Linked DNA regions of Homo sapiens: region 2 is linked to region 1. Evidence: promoter capture Hi-C in 16 types of primary human blood cells and fetal thymus (Javierre and others, 2016). All regions are on one chromosome and are shown on one strand. The core of a region is centred on a gene start or on the middle of the fragment in contact, and the rest is flanking DNA. Distances in the headings are between cores, read along the strand shown. Region 1 holds the start of RANBP9 (RAN binding protein 9). Region 2 has its middle 2.6 kb from the start of TMEM170B.

What was found. The method cuts DNA at HindIII sites, captures the fragments that hold promoters and counts their contacts. A CHiCAGO score of 5 or more calls a contact.
Region 2: a contact is called between a fragment that was not itself captured here and the fragment with the promoter of RANBP9 in region 1, in 1 of 17 cell types (naive CD4 T cells). The highest score is 6.5, in naive CD4 T cells.

Annotation. Positions count from the first base shown.
Region 1 is chr6:13,710,511-13,713,389 of GRCh38, reverse strand. It overlaps RANBP9 (RAN binding protein 9), which reads left to right and starts at 1,555. Exons shown (of 14, transcript NM_005493.3): 1 at 1,555-2,455. The coding sequence starts at 1,885. LOC124901264 (a long non-coding RNA gene) reads left to right here and starts at 636. Exons shown (of 2, transcript XR_007059462.1): 1 at 636-707; 2 at 849-1,038. RefSeq lists silencers at 1,051-1,820, 1,981-2,100, 2,181-2,230, 2,491-2,610. The HindIII fragment of the contact is 8,985 bases long and covers 1-2,879 here.
Region 2 is chr6:11,533,731-11,536,658 of GRCh38, reverse strand. No RefSeq gene overlaps it. Among named protein-coding and RNA genes, the nearest start is that of TMEM170B, 2.6 kb to the left of the region's middle. The HindIII fragment of the contact is 342 bases long and covers 1,094-1,435 here.

The DNA of each region.
Region 1 (2,879 bases), core at 306-2,805:
AGAGGCCAGGCATGGTGGCTCACGCCTGTAATCCCAGCACTTTGGGAGGCTGAGGCGGGTAGATCACTTGAGGTCGGGAGTTCGAGACCAGCCTGGCCAACATGGTGAAACCCCGTCTCCACTACAAGTACAAAAATTAGCTGGGTGTGAGCACATGCCTGTAGTCCCAGCTACTTGGGAGGCTGAGGCAGGAGAATCGCTTGAACCCGGGAGGCGGAAGTTGTAGTGAGCTGAGACCACACAACTGCACTCCAGCCTGGGCGACAAAACAATAATAATAATAATAATAAAAGTACAACAGAACATCTAGTTGTCTGGGTAACTGAGGGAGAAATTAGGCCGAATGACTCTGTTATTTGTTCTGGCCAGATAATCTTGGCCTTAAATTAAATCACCTTTGGCCTACCTTCTTCAAAACGAAATAATTTTCTCTTCGGCAAAACATTTCTTATTTGACCAAATGATTACCATCATATCTTTGGAAGCAAACAAAATATCAGAATTTACATCACACAATTTACATATGCAAAGCCTGATTTTGCCAGCTAGGGAGGGATAAGCTAAACAAAGGGAAGTGGTGAAAACAAAGTAGTAATGTTATGATGGGTCAGAGAGCAACACTTGGCAAGTTGTGCCAAATTAGTCGACGAAGCATTCTATTGGGAATTGCAAAGTAGGAAGTCCTATTTTTGACTCTGCTGATCTCGGTAAATATTTCCTTGTTTTAAAAATGGGCATAATTTTCTGTTACCTAAGAACCCTGTTATGAAAATTAACGAGTCTATAAAATGTTCTGACGTCTCTAGAAGCCCTTCCTAAACACACACTATAATCTTGTATTCATACAGTGCCTGCTCCTGCTTTTTGAAGATATGCCGGTCTTTATTAATGACATCTTCTACCACTGTTAAGTTCACTGTGAGTCCTCGTAAAATTAATTAATGAAACAGTCACTATTCTAAGTGGGAGACTGCCTTCAGAAGTGGTTTCTACTGCCCATATGGTCAATGCTACGGAATTAAACACTGAAGTACCAAAGGCAATGCGTTCCTCTTTGGAGGGAGGCGGCAAACGGGAACGGGACTGAGGCGAGAGCTAGCAGCACTGCGCGGGGAGCCTGAGCCGCTCCGCACGCCCCGGGCCGACGGGTCCTAGAGCGCCCCGGGGCCTGGGCTCGCGGCGGCCCCAGCGGGGCTCGATTACTCTCGCCTGGACGAGAAGCGGCGCCTCGGCTCCGAGGAGCCCTACGGTGGGGAGGTGGGGCGACGACAACAAAAAGAAGTCAAGTGGGAGGGGATTCGCCGGCGAGGGGGGCGACGGCGGCCGCCAAGGGAGAGGAGGCGGACACCTCCGAAGGGACCTGCGGCGCCGGGAGCCCAGCGATCCTGCCCACGAGCGACTGGCGGGCCCGGGAGGACGCCTCGCGGCGCACAGCCGGGAGCCCCGCGGCCCGCCCCCTCGCACCGCTCGCGCCTCTCTCGCGCCTCCGTCCCGCCCCCTCGCCTAGCGCCGCCCGCGCGCAGCGTCTCGCGCCGGCCCGGCCCGCCCGCCGGGAAACAGCCGCGAGAGCAGCGGCCGCGGCGGCCGCCAGCGCGCCTTCCCCTCCCGCGCTCCCGCGTCGCCCCCGCCCTCGGCGCCTCGTCCCCGGGCCGCGCGCCCGCGCTCCGGCCAACGTTCTCTCCCGGCCTCCCGGGCCCGCCGCCTACTCCCGCGTCTCCGAGCTCCTCAACCGCCGCGGTCTCCCTGGGCGCGCGGCCCGCCGCCTGCTTCCGGGGCGGGCGGACTGGGCGCCTGGTGCCGGCGGCCGCAGCGACAGCGCCCCCGGGAAGCAGAGGAGGAAGGAGAGAAGAGGTGGAGGTGGCCGCAGGCTGAGTCGCGGCCGGGATGTCCGGGCAGCCGCCGCCGCCGCCGCCGCAGCAGCAGCAACAGCAGCAGCAGCTGTCGCCGCCACCGCCGGCGGCCTTGGCCCCAGTCTCCGGAGTCGTCCTGCCGGCGCCCCCGGCCGTCAGCGCCGGCTCTTCTCCGGCCGGCTCGCCCGGCGGCGGTGCGGGCGGCGAAGGCTTAGGGGCCGCGGCGGCCGCCCTGCTCCTCCACCCTCCGCCGCCGCCGCCCCCGGCCACCGCGGCCCCGCCGCCCCCGCCGCCGCCCCCGCCTCCCCCTGCCTCAGCGGCTGCCCCCGCCAGCGGGCCGCCCGCTCCCCCGGGCCTTGCAGCGGGCCCCGGCCCGGCTGGAGGAGCCCCGACCCCAGCTCTGGTGGCGGGCAGCAGCGCCGCGGCCCCCTTCCCTCACGGGGACTCGGCCCTGAACGAGCAGGAGAAGGAGTTGCAGCGGCGGCTGAAGCGTCTCTACCCGGCCGTGGACGAACAAGAGACGCCGCTGCCTCGGTCCTGGAGCCCGAAGGACAAGTTCAGCTACATCGGCCTCTCTCAGAACAACCTGCGGGTGCACTACAAAGGTACTGGGCGTGTGTCCTGCGGTGGGAGTGGGGCACTGACCCGACGTGGCCGGCCGCCGCTGCGCCGCTCTCGACCCGCCCCCGACCCCCGCCCTCGCGGGCTCTGCCCTCGGAGGCCACTCGCCGCCTGTTGTGCTGCTCCGGGTGGGCGCGGGGGTCGCGGTGAAGGGTCCGAGGGTGAGGGGCGAGATTCTTGGAAAAGGAAGGTGAGTAGAATGCCCCAGGGTAGAAAGGAGCTGGTAATCCTAGACCAGGAGCAGGACACCTTGAGGGAATCCGGGATGACAGGACAGAACTGGCTTTCTGATTTCCCTGGGAGATAAATCTTGGGGCTTGGGTAGAGGAATCCATGGACTCGGAGTTGGGTTACATTGTTCTCCAGGTGGTGGGTCAGGCGTTCTCCTCTTACAAGGGGGGAAGAGAG
Region 2 (2,928 bases), core at 15-2,514, 2.2 Mb after region 1:
AACCCCTCTGCCATCTGGATAAAGAAAAATTTACAAAGAGAAGTGAAGAAATACCTGCTGTAGCTAAATCATGAAGTATATTTGACAAAGCACTGAAGGGTCAAATTACCTGTCAAATGGTGCTCTTGGTGACCACTTTAAAATAATATTTACATACACATTTATTTCTTTGTTTATTTGTATTTTCTTTTTGATGTCACAACATAAGAGAAATTTTTGCACCATTAATAGGAATTGAGCCAAAACTCTTAATGTAGAGTTTATCTTCCTCCTAGAATTTAGACTTAATTAGATCTATTAACAAGATTACAGAATATCAAACCTAAAAGAGCGCTTTAACATTTTTCTAATTTTATTTTACAGATAGGGAAACAGATTCTGTGAATTAAGTGACTTGACAGAGATGACAGCACTTCACAGCTCAGTTTCTGAATTCCTGGTCTATTATTCTTTCTAGCAACCACATTATCTTTCTTAACCCACTGTTAACTCCCTCACTTTAAGATTCTTGATGGGGAAGTGCAGGTTACCTAATGATATTCTTAAGGGACTTGGCATTACATAATTAGTGATGTTAGGGAATGTGACCACATTCAGTGAAGGGTTCACAGCAAACTCCCTGAGCAGGGGCTCATTAAACTCTCATATCAGAAACCTTTAGTTAGTTTACGTTCTTAGGATTGCACACTATTATTTAAAACACAGTAGCACGCAGTGAAAATATTCAGAACCTGGGACAGTGCCTGGCACCTGCACCACAAATATTTGTTGAATGAATCACTGAATGATCTTCATAGAAAAGTCAGCATTGTTCTTGTTCTGAATAAATATTTTTTACAGAATCCAAGTGTTCATGTCAGGAAATGAGAAAGACACAGCAATGAAGTCTCAAGTCAGTAATGTTATTTGCTGCCCAACAACTTCACCCCTGCTGTTCAGTTCAATTTAATTGGCGTCTATATTTATTTGGCATCTACTATCTGTAATGTTCTGTGCAAGGTGTTATCTGTAACATTTGAAGATAAGATCTCTACTCTCTAGGCTACTTAGGTTTTCCTTGATAAAAGTAATGATCTTGACTGTGTTGGAAGCTTATATCCTTAAGAGAATTAGACATTTTCCCAACAGCCAGAGTTATGAAACCCAAAACTGAGTTAATACAAATGAAAGTTTTGGAATTTCTTTCCTACAGATTTTTTATTTTGAATTAATACACCAATTCAGGAAGAGTTTAGTCACGTTCCTGTCAGAAATCAGGGACCACCCCAAGTGAATCCAAAAATTTCCTTTCAACTCTGTGCCCTTCAGCATGAAACAATTCACAAACGTAATTCATAAACCAAAATTCCTGGTTTATTTCTCTCATGTAAGTGAGGGAACACCCATTAGCCTTAGTCATTTTTAAAACTGTCCAGAGACAACCTAGAGGAAAGCTTTTTAAAATCAATTAAAATATAAAATGATATTGATCTTTTGAGAAAAACATTTTCAGGTATCTTTTCAGAAGCACCCCACTCTACTGGTATCAACTTAACGTATTAGTCCATTTTCACGCTGCAGATAAAGACATACCCAAAACTGGGCAATTTATAAAGGAAGAGGTTTAATTGGACTTACAGTTCCATGTGACTGGGGAAGCCTCACAATCATGGTGGAAGGCAAGGAGGAGCAAGTCCCGTCTTACATGGGTGGCAGCAGGCAACGAGAGAATGAGGAAGACGCAAAAGTGGAGACCCTTGATAAAACCATACAGAGCCAAATTATATCATTCCTCCCCTGGTCCCTGCCAACTCTCATGTCCTCACATTTCAAAATCAATCATGCCTTCCCAACAGTTCCCCAAGGTCTTAACTCATTTCAGCATCAACTCAATAGTCCACAGTCCAAAGTCTCATCTGAAACAAGGCTAGTCCCTTCCGCCTATAAGCCTGTAAAATCAAAAGCAAGTTAGTTACTTCCTAGATACAATGGGGGTACACGCATTGGATAAATACAGCCATTCCGAATGGGAGACATTGGCCACAACAAAGGAGCTACAGGCCCCATGCAAGTCCAAAATCTAGACTGATTCAGCTTGATTCAGCTCAGTCCAGCTCCACAGGTCTTCTCATTTCATACCTGAGGCTGAGGAAGATGTCACGCTCTGAGTACATGCCATTCTCATGGTATAGGGCTGGAACCAGGGCTACAATGGGACACTGGCCTTGCCTGCAAAGCCTTGCCTGCAAGTCTTGACAACAGACTCTGAAACACTCTGTTATCAAGATAAATAATATACTAATATAATATTTTTAAAAATAAAAATTCATGCAAAAATCCATGATTAATGAAATACCAAAATTTTAAATAAACACAGAATCTCACCCTGCACTTGCAAGACCTTGTCTCACCCACCTCATCCTTATCCCAGCTCTGGCATGGACAAGAGAGGCAGGGCTAAACTACACAGGTGCATTTAAAGTTCATGCTCAGATATGGGGTCCATGTCACATGCATGTCACATATCCACATTCCCTTGTTTGAAGCAGATTGCATAGTTAAGCCCCTAAGTGAATGGGATAAAAAAGTATATTCTGCCTACAGAGAAGGATGGAAAGAATGAATGGGAGGGGGCAACAAATGGTAATGAACAAATAATGCAGTCTTAACACAGGCTGAGTGAGGTTAAGTCTTCTACAAATAATATATTTCAGCCTATATTTCTGTGTACTTTTTGTAGTTTGCGCTTTACGAATTTTGATTCTATGTGTTTTAGTGAACACATATGTATGTAAGATTTGTGATTTTGCTTTCTTAAATTAAAAATATATTAATTTCCATTATAAAATGCTTTTAAAATTTATGTGAATCTTGTCTGATGTTAAGGTCTTAAGTCCTGCTTTCTGTTTGCATTTGCCTGATATGTATTTTTCCATTCTTTTTCAACTT